Regions from separate parts of the Homo sapiens genome. Here all the other regions are linked to region 3. The links are contacts of gene promoters, found by promoter capture Hi-C in blood cells and fetal thymus (Javierre and others, 2016). All regions are on one chromosome and are shown on one strand. Each heading gives the region's core, a stretch centred on a gene start or on the middle of the fragment in contact. The rest is flanking DNA. Distances are from core to core; before and after follow the strand shown. Region 1 overlaps CHN2 (chimerin 2). Region 2 overlaps CHN2 (chimerin 2). Region 3 holds the start of CPVL-AS1 (CPVL antisense RNA 1).

Region 1 (4,064 bases), core at 1,497-3,996, 330 kb before region 3:
CAGTAAACACTAGAGGTCCCCTTTTTCTGATTTAACACCACCATTTTAAAGAAGGGTAGTGTGGATTATTGGATTAAAATTAAAATGAACCTGAACTTGAATAGCTAAGCTTCCTCAGTAATGGTGACAAGTAAGGTGAGTGGGAATGAAGGACAGCAGAGGTGGCAGGGAGCTGACAGGTGGGTTCCAGTTCTTGTGGGGATGATAGCAGCTGCCGACTTAAATGCAGCACCAACATCTGCTTACCCAGCTCAAAGGCAAGGCAGCAATGAACTGCCAGCAGTACTGGAACATCCAGAGACGGGGGCGGGCTGAAGGGCAGCTCCGCGAGAAGCTCAGATCAGGCCTCAGGACTCAGCTTCTCTCTCCCCATCTCCAGGCTCTACTTTCTCCAGGCTCCATTCTCAGGCTCTATCGGGTGGCGGGAAGCCTTCAGCAGCCCAGGCTCTACTTCCTGCCTAATTGAGCCAAGCAGAAAGAGGGTGAAAGGCCTGGCTCCTGGAACTCACGGTAAAAGTCTGTTGTCTTCCCCTGGCTCTGACTTGACCACATGGTCACCCTTGAACCAACCACCCTAGCCAGGGACACGGGGTCCTTCGGCTTGGCCTTGAATCACAAATCCACCTCTGGGATTAGTGGGCAGATATGACTCCACCAGAAGCTCCTACACTGAGGTGGCTCTGGGTGGCAAAAATGACAGCTACTCACTCTGGGGGTGGGGTGGGGAGACTGCCACATCCTGATGAAATAGACACAAAGATGGTAGCTGGAGAAGCCCAGGAGAGGTAACAAAGAGGGTGATACCCAGTACGAGGCCAAAGAAGGAAAATAATAGGCTCTGCTAAAATTGTGTTTCCTCCTTCCAACCCTCCTTGTTCAATGTCACTTTGAGCTTTGAGTCTTGGTATTTCCTCTGTACGGAGAAGAGAATGAGACCCAGTCGGTGGCTCCTCATTGGCCATATATATCAGAATTGCACCTGCAGAACTGTTTCCTGATGACACAGGCCCTAGGCTTGTGTTGAAGTCTAAATTTAGGTTTGTGTACTTGGTGTGTAGTTGATGTTAAATAGTGATACACAGGTGTTTGGAGATAGAGAAATGTTTATTTGATCTGATTAAAGTAAGAAGGTGGGGAAGGCAAGATTTTAAAAATTTGTTTTAATAAAAAGTAGAAATGGGGAATTTTTAATGTGGCTAGGGAGTAAGGGAGGAGAGTTTAGGGATTTGAGGAGGAAAGTCTGTGTTTTTAAAGTTTTAGATAATATTTTAAATAACTAGAGCATTATATGTAACAGTCATTCTTTAAAAACTTCTCAAATTTATAAATCAAAAGTTCAACTTTTACTATGTCTCACTACTTTCAACTTTTTCTCCCCTTACAAAGGTCTAAAATAATAACACTCTCCTTCAACTTTTTCATCAACTCCTATAACTTTTTCCCTCCAGTTTCTTCAAAAACAAAAATACAAAAAAAGACAAACTCCCCTAATTAGAAAAACAAATCAAAAAAGTCAAGTATAATCTCACATCCCATACTCAACAAAATACCCAATTTAGGTGAGGGGCTAAGACTCCTCAAACAAGAGTCTCTATTTCAACGCTTACCAATTAAAAAACTAAGTGCCAATAGATGACCCACAGACATAATGCAAATATACTCTCCATTTCTCACCTCAAACCTATTTAATTAAAAAAAAACCTTTAATCAAGAGAACCCTAAATACTTATCCAAATTATTGTCTTTTATCTTTTTAACATATCATCCCACCTAGACTAATAAACAAACATTAATATTTTACTCACAGCCAAAAACCACCATATAATTACTAAAAAGACAAAAACAGCTCAATTTCACCTTAAAAATGAAAGTAATCACCCTAAATCTACCAACACTGTTCCTACGATTAAGCCCAACTAAAATATAAACAAGACACTACCCTGTTTTAAACATTATAAAAATTTTCTTCCAGAATAAATTATTTAAAAGTCCCATGATTAAAAAGCCTCGATGAAATTAAAAACATTCAACAACCCCAGAGGGATCCCTAAAATTAAAACTCATATAGACTCAGCCTGTTGTCCCCCCACCGCCTAGTGAGAGCCACTGGGAAGAGCTCTGAGGTCGTGCTCAGGGCAGGCGCTTGGTGGGTCAGGTCCAGAAGAATGCCTCCTCATCATAGCCTGCCCAGTCCCCATAGGTGTACAGCAGTCCCAGGTGACAGCATCATTTACCTCCTGCAGTCAAAGGTGATAAAAGTGGTGGGACAATTCCTCTCAAACACCACTCTGGAGATGTCAAAATATAAACATCTTGAAAAGCTGGGCTCTTCATCAAACTGTGGCCCACCAATGTTTGGGGATCCCCAAGATCCCTTTAGAGAGTCCATGATGTCAAAACTGATTTTATTACAGTAATTGCCTTCTGTGATTGACATTGCAACTAACCTTTAAGAAACTACCACTTGTTGAATTGTGGTCTAGTATATATTTTAAAGCCCACATTTACCTGAAAAGGCTATAAGAACACTCCTCTTTTTTCCAACTACACATCTGTGTGAGGCCAGACTTCTTCCTATACTTCAAATAAAACAATATATCCCAGGTTGAATACAGGAGCAGATGTGAGAAGCCAGCTGTCTTCTTTTAAGCCAGACACTAAAGAGATTTACAAAAATGTAAAAACAATGCCAATATTCTCATCACTTTTTTATTTGGAAAACAGTGTTATTTTTCACAAAAATATGTTATTCATACTAACACATAATAGGTTTATTACTATTATGTTGAAAGAATTAATAAATATTTTAGATTTTTCTATTTTACTTTCTAATACCATAAATATCAAGATTTAACCCACATTAACAGAAGCTCTTTGGGGTCCTCAGTAACTTTAAAGAGTATAGAGGGGTCCTGAGGCCGAGAAGTTTGAGCACTTTTGGACTAGAATTAGATTCCTGGGATGATTTTTACAAGTCCTAGGCCCGCAGAGCTGCCCACGTGCTTATGCAGAGAAGGAGCACAGGCTACAGAACAGACACCCCAAGCCACTGTGTAGCCTGATCTGTGCTATAAAACTTGAGGAAAGTGGGATGACTCAATGGATTCATTGCTGAAAAATTTGTTCTTGCACATTTTCACATCCGTTAGGTTTGGTCCTTTGTGTCATCAGCATGTAACTCTCCTTTCAGCCACAAGATGGCACTATTTGCATAGAAAATACTTTCTCGGGAGCCGTGTCTCTAAATTAGCTGTTTCCTAGAGAGATTTTGGATGGGGACAAGGAGGGTTTGGCGTTTGGCCCATCATATCCCTCCATACGCTGAATGTATTAGGATGACTTTCCTCTTCCGTTCCTCTTTGAAAACACCGATATTGAGGAACTGGTAAAAAGAGATTCTTTCTAATATCCACCCAAAGAAACCACTAGCTGACCCCTGAGAGAGGGACTAACTTTTCCTTGCCCCTTCATTAAATTCTTTAATCCCACTTCAGTTAATTGTTTCCCATCATTTATATTTCAGGCAATAATCTCGGGAAAGGAGTCATGGAAAGGGAGCAAAGCCAAACCCTGAACCAGCACAGGTAACTGTAGCCACCAGAGTTAACTGTGTGAAGAATGTTTCCCCAGAGGACTTCTCACGTGTTGTGTAAAAGTAGAGAAAGAAGGCTAGGGTCTAATTTACAACATAAAAGAGCCTCAGGAATATAAGAGGCATGGGAAGAAGTGAGACAGGTGTCCTTGAAAGAAAATGCTCCAAAATGTCTGATCACCTTTACTCTCGTCTCCCCTTCCATCTAACCCAGGTTCTCAAGCCCTGCACTTGACAATCACCTGAGGAGCCAAAAAAGACCGACAGGTGCCTTTCACCAGTGAAGACTTTGATTCCATAGGCAGGTGGGGTCAAACATGGGCATTTTTAATATATATTTTTTAATTTAATTTATTTTTTTTTTTTGATACTGAGTCTCACTCCGCCGTCCAGGCTGGAGTGCAGTGGTGTGATCTGGGCTCACTACAACCTCCGCCTTCTGAGTTCGGGTGATTCTCCTGTCTCAGCCTCC
Region 2 (4,635 bases), core at 1,027-3,526, 310 kb before region 3:
ATGCTCTACCTCCCACATTAATGGAAACCAAGCACTTGACTACTATAAAAAATATTAATTCAAAGGAGTCTGATTGCATTTATTATCATTAAACTCTTGCACAATAGACATATGATGATGACCATATATTAGAAAATTTGTAATATTTAAATGACACATGAAATGACTACTTATTAAATTATTAAAACAAAGAATAGTATAATACATACTCTCTTCCATAATATTTTGGTCTGTTTTCCACCTATATTAAAAAGAAAAAAAAATTAATAATGCATTTGAATTCAAATCAGCTAGATAAAAATGCTATTCAAATAAACAGAACTAGGGTCCTGGTAGTAATTTTATTACAGATTGTATCCTCCAAATCAGAGATCCATGAAGCTATGGAGTTATAATCAGCACATTCCAGTATCAGGTAGGAATGACCTAGAATCAATCATTAGGCTCATTTCCCACCCAAACCCAATCATCCAATAAGAGAATTTTCAACAAAAACAAAGCGATGCTTATTTTAATATTAAGGAATTTGTAAGGATATTATAAGGCTTCATCCTGAAGGATAAAACAACTACTCTGTCATGAATAAAACATAAGCATTTATTTTACTCTGTGCCTAATTGTTTTTATTATGTATTTATAATTAAAACAAGAAGTCTACCTGGATTAAAAAATAAAGCAGACTTAACTTGATCATGTTCTAAATAAAATCAATATTTTAACATTCTTATTTTTTCAACATGTGGCTAATGGGCTGAAATTCATTTGACACCAGAGGTGCAGGCTACAGGGGACAAGATTTATGACTTGACTAAAACACAAACATTCCAGAAAGGATCTTTCAATCACAGCTTTAGCCTTGAGGTTATCACATCTGATTTTTCTCACATACATGATCATCTGCTTTCATAAGAGCTTTGTTTTCACATGTTTATGATGTTGGAGTTGGTGAGAAAGTGACATGATTTCTCATGCTCGGCCTTTGTTCTTCTCTCCTAACTCCAGGGACACTCAAAACATTGTAGAGCCACATTAAGTTATGGGTTTTTATGAATGGTTCTATGTATGACAGCAAGTTTATGTTTATTCACTGTTGTAGGATACGAGCTTGGCAGCTGTTTTATTCACAGTCATTTCTTCCTAGAGTCAAATGGACAGTTTTCACAGCAGGGCTCAGAGACAGGCACAGTAGCAGGATTTCATGATATGGGGCAGTTTCCTGGCCTAGCTCCATCCTCCAAGGGATGCAGATCTGAATAGGTAACAGGACACTAGGAGCTAGGGGAAGAGGCTCAGAAAGGCGGAGCTGGGGCTTTGGGGACCACACTCACAATGCTGCCTAGGACAAGCCTCGCTGGTACAAAACTTATCATCTAGACACTTCTAAATATGTGTTCACTCTCCTGTGCATTTTACACCTGAGAATTACTCAACCAAGCAGGACATCCATAACTTAATCTTCAAGGTTCAAAGCCTGCTCGGTGTCATTTGTGAAGGAAGATTTAAATAATATCATTAATAGAAGCAGAAAGTGTGTAAAAAGGCACCTGGTTATCTGATATCCTTTCTATAAATGATGTGTGCCATTATTCTACAGGCTGGTAAGCTTTTTAATGAGAATTGAATATGTTGTCATTTATATCAGTCTTTCGGCTTTCAAAGTTCTTTTTTAGTTTTATAATATTATAGACATGTGACTGTAAAACCAACATGCCAGAGAAGAAATTTAGAACTAGAAAAGCCAATGAAAGTTGAGGATATATAATGGCAAAATCTCCATTCTTTGAGAGGCGATATTCCAAAATTTGAAGTGATTCTCTACATATGAGGACGATTTTTAAATTTCCATCTTTTTGGCTGAACCGTAGCACAAGTTTGCAAAATCTGGGTGTAGCTCTCAACCCTATTCCCTTCCTGTATCTTCTTATTTCCCTAAAAGAGAAAGAGTTACTAATCTAACTTCCCAGATGAGCCACATGGTAATACTACTAACTCTTGGCATGCAGGTAAACAGTTAATAGATGCTGAATTTAATTGATTCTTAACAAGACAACAAATTGCTTTCAGTTCATCAACCAATGATAAAAATACACAGCACCCTTATGTTCTGGGCTCTAGGCTCAGGCCAGCCATGTGCATGAAGTAATGACCTTGCAGGTGCAGAGAGGAAAGGTATGAGGCGCTCAGGGGTGTTCTGCACTTGCAGCAGAGGGAAACGCTTAAGGAGAAATCTAACATAGACCCCCAAAGAGGGAAGCTGATATTTAGGGTGCCTTGAAAGATGCCAGATAAGATTCTGCCCAGAAGAGAGTTTGATCCAATTGAGGGACAAATCTTCTGAAAATGAAAACCACTAGAAAATAAAAGAAGAGCCCTGAATTGTGTGGGACAGGCATGGAAGAGGGCCATGGAATACGTCCCAAATATTGCATGAGATATATACTAATACATGATTCCTTGTATATCTGAAATTTAAATTTAACTAGGCATCCTGGTCCCTCCTTCCCTCTCTCCCTTCCTCTCTTCTCCCCTCCCTTCCTCCCTTCTACCCTCCCTTCCCCTCCCCTCCCCTCCCCTCCCTTCCTCTTCCCTTCCCTTCCTACCTCCCTCCCTCTCTCCTTTTCTCCCTCTCTTCCCCACTCTCTCTTTCTTTCCTAAATCTGGCAACCCTATGTAGGGGATAGGAAAGACAGAAGTAAGAGAGAGTAAAGATAGAGGATGTGGTTGGCCATCTGATAACTGCTTCTACTGGTTGAGGGCCATTTTGATAGCAATCCAATCTCTCCTTCCTTTTTTGTCTCTGAAGCTCGTAAAGAAAATATATGTGTCCTTGTTAATGTCAAAGAGAGAGAGAGAGGCTGGGATCAAAAAAACAAAATCCTCTTCTTTTTGTAAACTTTTTACTCACAGGAGTCTAAACACAGTCTCTATTTCTATACTTCACTAAGCTTTAAACCAGTAAAGAGCTTAATGTTTAAGTTAAATGGTGCTATACAAATCATACAACGTCTACATTTCTTCAAGGTGGATAATACTGGATCCTCAGATCCAGAAAGAATAGGTGGCTGGGGGCTAGGGCTCCCAGGGACAAAGGTCTGCCAAGAGACTAAGAACCTCCGTGCTGTGCCCCCAGCAGTGCCTTAGAGAAGCCTGACTCACTCCCTGGGCAAGGCTCCGTGTTGGCCATCAGTGGAAACCAGGACCCACCTGTGAAACTGAATTTAATTAAAGAAACTGTAACTCAATTTCTGTTTCCAATTGTATGAGATTCTCTTCAGTAGGTGTGAAGGCGACAGGATAGTTGATAAATAAAAAGTAAGGCAACTCAGAAATTCTTCTTGCATTCTCATTGAAAACTATGTTTGTTAAAATCAGGCAACTTAATAAAAAAATTTAGGCAGTCACATGGATTCAGAAAGGAATGGAAAATGCAATATATCATGACAAGAATGAAGACTGGTTCTGGAGCTTCCCTGCCACTGTGACTATCCTAGGACAGCAGCTGCAGCTGGTCAATCCATCACCTGGTGAACCTGGCCTTTGTGAGTAGGACTGACGGCTGTCGGATCGGCCATGTCTGCTCTTGGGATTTAGTGCTCTGACTCCAAGAAGTGAAAGCAGCTCATTCTTTTTAAGAGAAAGAAAATATGTAGTCGTGTTACACGGATTACTAGTTCTTCTAATACTGGGTCCTTAGATGATCCAGCTGGCTCAAAAAGGAACACCTCTCTTTACAGAGGGAGAGCACCAAGTAGGAGGTCATTGAGTGAGAAAACACATGAAATGGGTCCTTCCCAAGGCACAGAGGGTTTCACTGTATATGGTGTGACCATGCAGAATGGTGGCTGATTCTTTTTTTTTTTTTTTTTGAGACAGTGTCTCGCTCTGTTGCCCAGGCTGGAGTGCAGTGGGGCAATCTCAGCTCACTACAACCTCCACCTCCCGGATTCAAATGATTCTCCTGTCTCAGCCTCCTGAGTAGCTGGGATTACAGGCGCATACCACCGTGCCTGGCTAATTTTTGTATTTTAGTAGAGACGGGGGTTTCACCATGTTGCCCAGGCTGGTCTCGAACTCCTGAGCTCAGGCAATCTGCCCAACTCAGCCTCCCAAAGTGCTAGGATTACAGGCATGAGCCACCGTGCCTGGCCGGCTGATTCTTTTTAAAAATAAAACTGAACATTTTATTCTAAATAAGCATCATCTACAAGAGAATAGTCACCCCAAGGAGGCACAATACATGCCACTTATATCCCTGTTGACCAGAACATTTTTGGAATTTCTGTTTTGGAACTACCTTAATATATACCACCCTTTCTTGTGAATATCCTTAAAGGTACACTTCTCAAAATGACCAGTGTGGACTGGTCATTCAAAACAGAAACTTCAAGATGCTTGTTGAAGACTGCAGACAGCATCCCCATCTCGAACCAGCTGAACCAAAATTACTGAGGGTAGAGGTATGACGTGTAATTTAATCAAGCCCCCTAGATGATTTTAAAGCATATACTAAAGTCAGAATCACTGTATGTAGAAATATACATACATTTACTTTTTTGAGAATGGATTTGAGAGTGCATGTTATTTCAGCAAACCGGCATAAGTTATTTGGAGCCAAGACCAGTAAGTAAACGGGGT
Region 3 (4,549 bases), core at 1,319-3,818:
TGTTGATACAAACCATGATGTTTGGCAAAACTGCCAAATCCCAGATGAAAAATTTGACTTGGTTATTTCACATCTGCCTTGTGGTTTTATGCATATAATTTCCTAATGTGTGTAGAAAAGGACAGTTTTCTTTTTACCTTCCTTGCTGCCAGGATGAATACTTTTAAGGAAACCTGTGCCTTCTGAGTGGTGAAGGAAGATGTGAGGTAGAGATGCCATTGTCAGGAGATATCATCCTCCCCGAACTACATGGGATACGTTCAGTCTGGGGGCACTGCTCTTTTCAGAAGAAAAAACACTAAATAATGATGCCTTGATGGTTTATTATGAATATTAGAATATTATGAATATTTATTCAGTCTAGTTTGTCCCATCTGGGTTGTCTTCTGTTTTAAGGCCATGTGGCAGAAAAGAGAAGTGGAAGGCGTTCTGGATTAATCATTTGGAGACCTGGGATTCAGGGCTGGCTTTGCTCCTCCCTGGATGATTTCAGAAAAGTCTTTCAGCCTCCCTGGGCCTCTGCTTTTCATCTAACAATCAGATGAGTTGTTAAACTAGATCACTTCCAGGGATATTTTGCTTTACTAGAAAGTTCAAATTCAGTTATCTAGACTCACTCTTTAAGTATCTGTATGTAATTGCAGTTTTAACGTAATACCTACCCATTTTCCCTCTCGCTGCTGCCACCACACAAAAAAAAATTGTTCTAGATTTTTCAAGAAAGAAAATTCCTTTCTCTTCTAAACTCTTAATTTTCTCACACTCTTAGGAAAGCTGAATAGTGCTGCTGAGTTTGTAGAGCCATCTTCAAAAAATAAATGCACAAATTCAGAAATGGTTTTCTGCTTTTCAATGTAAATGCACCAGACCTAAATATCTTCACATTTGTGTGCTATGAATGAGAGGAGCCTGATGCTCAAGGGGTCTGGAGCAGCTGTTCAGAACCTTGATTTGGTGTGAAGCAGTCTGGAAATAATAATAGTACCTACTGCATAGGGTTGTTTTGAGCATTTAATTAGATAACCCTCCTCAGATATTAGCATAGTGACTGGCTGTGGTGAGTACCCAACACATGATGACTATTATTACCATTCATGCTGAAAAGCTGGGCTAATATATTATGACTCCCAAGCATACAGCCTAATGCCTGGAGACAAGAGCTGAAGTGTTAATAGAAGCTCCGCTAACTCATTGCTGGGATATGGCATTTCCCCCTCTACTCTGTGTCTATTATTTTGAAATCATTTTTAAAAGCAATAGTTACTTTGTCTAAAAAAAAATGGAGCTTAGCAGTTGACATTAGAAGTTGTGCTTGTTTTTTATATGGACAGCAGCAAAATGTGTCAGGACCCACCCCAGGCTCCCTGCCTCACCGTGTGGACGATGGTGTGGCCACACCAGAGAAAGTGGCGTGGGCCTGCCCTCAGTGCAAAGGAAAGGGGAGAAGCTGCTTTGTCTTCTTCCTCCTCCTCTTCATTTCTGCCCAGAACACCAACTGGAATTAATTTTCTCTAAAAAGAGACAAATGTGTCTGTAAATCACCCTCCTCAAGGCATGAAAAAAACATACTTCAAAAAGAGAAATAAGCTGTGTTTAATTCCCATAATTAACTTTCTTTATAAGTGTTATCCTTTCTGAGCCAGTAGCTATTAGTGAGATTGCCCTTGTTCTTGAGGCACGGACACATTTAGCATCCTCTCAATTGTACATGAGCCCAGGTAGAAGTTAAAGCAAAACAGCCCTCACGGGAAGGCAGGTAGGTGACAGGATCAGGGGGACCGCCCATTGTTCTCTGAGCCTGTGGCTTTATGTGCCGCTCAAGGGAAAGAGTCAGTGCACGTGGGAGGTTGTGGCAGTGGATGGGAACGCTTCCAAACTAGCAGGGCATGTGGTTAAAACAGAACATCTCTTCTCCATCAGCAAAAACGGGCAGACTCTCTTTATAAACAGTTTTGCAACCATAATTTATTTGAGAACCCAATAGAGACAAAACTTTGAAGCTATTTAAAAATGAATTAGGGAGCTTAATGGGACACTTTATCTTCATCTGCATGGGTGAAGTCCCTGTTGGAAGTACAGTGTCTGACAACCTTTATTGAAATCATCATGGCCCATTGGGTTAGGTGGCAAGCTCCCAGTATGCGAGAGCCATGTTTGTTTCTTATTCAATACTAAGCACGGTGCTTAATGAATATTATAGAATGGAGTTCATGCATGGCTGCCTTTAGATAAAATAAAAATATTGATATTTATTTCCTGCATCTTTTCACCTACTTTTTTTTTTTTTTTTTTTTGAGACAAAGTGTCACTCTGATGCCTAAGCTGGAGTGCAGCATTGCCATCTCAGCTCACTGCACCCTCCAATTCCCGGGTTCAGGTGATTCTCCTGCCTCAGCCTCCCGAGTAGCTGGGATTACAGGCACGTGCCACCATGCCCGCCTAATTTTTGTATTTTTAGTAGAGATGGGGTTTCACTATGTTGGACAGGCTGGCCTTGAACTCCTGACTGGGTGATCTGCCTACCTCAGTCTCCCAAAGTGCTGAGATTACAGATGTAAGCCACTGCGCCCAGCCCCTTTCTTTTTTTAAAATTTTTATTTTAGGTTTGGGTGTACATGTGAAGGTTTGTTACATAGACAAACACGTGTCATAGGGGTTTGTTGTACATATTATTACATCACCCAGGTATTAAGCTCAGTACCCAATAGTGATCTTTTCTGCTCCTCTCGCCTCCCTTTCATTGCCCTTCTCTCCCTGTACTATGTCCCAGGCCCTGGGGACTCTCCTTTGGCCTCCGTTGTTTTCCAGGGCCATCTTCCCACCTCAGCCATCCTCTCCTCAGTCTATTGTGCACAGCTTCTATTTCTCCATGCTTCTTCCATCTGTATCATGATTGTTCTGTTTCTGTCCCCCATTCTGACTTGTTGTCAACTCATTGTTCCATAGAAAGGATCTGATAAATTAAACCCAATAGGGTGGACTCTCAACATGTTTGCATTTGAGTAGAGAGCAGAGCCTACCTGATGGGTAGATATTTGTAATAGGGTAATTTCAAGCACTAACATGCAAACAGAAGGGTGGCAACCAAGGTGGGGTGGGAGAGCGATTCTAGAAGTAGGCTTATAATTATTAGCATTCTATGTAAGCCTGTACCATCATCCTGTTAGCCTGGGCTTGGGATCATGTAATTTGATGGCTAGAAGTGATACTTCAAGAACATCTAGTTCATGTATTTTATCTGTAGATTTTACTAGAGAATATTTATTGAGAATGGACTGTATGGTAGACATCATGCTAAGCACTGTTTTATGCATTACCTCGTTTAATCCTAACAGCTGCCTTATGAAATAGGTGCTATGATTATTCTTCCCATTTTACAGGTGAGGTGACCGAGGCTTAGTGAGGTTAGGTATGCCTTACCAAGGTCACCCAGCCAGAAAGTGGAGGAGCCAGCATTGGAACCTAAGCAGTCAGACTCCAGGGCCTGAAGATGGTGGTGAAGAAATGAGCTAGTGGTGCAGCCTTGTTCACCAAAATGCTTGTTCACCAAACTGGGTGCTCTCACCTTGAACTTGCACTGTCTCTAGGACCTGCTTCAGATTCACTTTGTGTCTGAAGGGGAGTCAAACATCCCCTTCCATATTTTATGCTGAATCTCTAAGGTTATTAACCTTACACAAACAGAAAAGAAGTTCTCTAGCTTCTTGAATGTCTCTGTCTTTCTGGCCAAGACTGTTTTAATCATAAAGACTTGGCTTTGATCATTAAGTTTTATAGAGTAAGTGGAAGTTTCAAGTGATATAAGGACTTGAAGTCTTTGGAATGCAATTATTTCTCAAGGCTTGGAACTTGCTGAATTTTATTAGATAGCATTCAAGCTGTTTTAACTCTTGAACCTATGACAAATCTCTATTTTCAGTTATGTTCATCTGCACTTGCCAATATTTTCTTTTTGAATTGAAAATGGATTTGTGACTATTTAATGATTTTAATATTACAAAAATCAGGGTTTAAGCTGCAACCGAAGAACTGAACAAGGGCATATGGAAATGTTTGCAAGTTGGATCTCTGGCTTTTGGACAGCATATCCAAATCAAATCGATACATATGTACTGAGGTTGCACAGAAAAGAATATGAGTAAATCAGAAGTCATTATAAGCTTTGTTGGAAATGAATTACCATGCTGGAGCAGGCAGCATAGAGACATAAATAGTACCTGATTAGATGAGATGTTTAGGTTGAGAATGAGAAATGCTAAGTTACATCCATTATGCAGCTTCATCCTTCTGAATTGTATCTACAGTGAGCAAACAAAGATTCAGTTTGTTGACTGCGGCCCAGTGTGTTCAGACTCTTTATTTAAAAGTCAAATTAACTGTAGTCTCCATTTTAAACAAAAGGGTTTATTCATCTCATTGAGTCACCTGGCTTCACGCTGGATTTCTCCAAACTGGCACTGAACTCAGAGTAGGTGGGAAAAGGATGCATCTTGTTCACCTATGCCTGTCAATGATGGCTTTTTCTTTTTTAAGGAGTATCTTCTCAATA

Evidence for each region. Contacts are between HindIII fragments. The CHiCAGO score rates a contact against its expected background, and 5 or more counts as called.
Region 1: a fragment that was not itself captured here is called in contact with the fragment with the promoter of CPVL-AS1 in region 3 in 1 of 17 cell types (megakaryocytes); the score reaches 5.5 in megakaryocytes.
Region 2: a contact is called between a fragment that was not itself captured here and the fragment with the promoter of CPVL-AS1 in region 3, in 1 of 17 cell types (endothelial precursors). The highest score is 5.0, in endothelial precursors.

What each region holds. Positions count from the first base shown.
Region 1 is chr7:29,408,084-29,412,147 of GRCh38, reverse strand. The region is part of intron 6 of CHN2 (chimerin 2); the gene reads right to left. Among named protein-coding and RNA genes, the nearest start is that of PRR15-DT, 150 kb to the left of the region's middle. The HindIII fragment of the contact is 5,269 bases long and covers 112-4,064 here.
Region 2 is chr7:29,389,285-29,393,919 of GRCh38, reverse strand. CHN2 (chimerin 2) reads right to left here. Exons shown (of 13, transcript NM_004067.4): 4 at 210-241. Among named protein-coding and RNA genes, the nearest start is that of PRR15-DT, 170 kb to the left of the region's middle. The HindIII fragment of the contact is 1,342 bases long and covers 1,606-2,947 here.
Region 3 is chr7:29,078,303-29,082,851 of GRCh38, reverse strand. CPVL-AS1 (CPVL antisense RNA 1) reads right to left here and starts at 2,568. Exons shown (of 3, transcript XR_001744918.2): 1 at 2,524-2,568; 2 at 1,374-1,511; 3 at 304-530. The region is part of intron 7 of CPVL (carboxypeptidase vitellogenic like); the gene reads left to right. The HindIII fragment of the contact is 9,422 bases long and covers 1-4,162 here.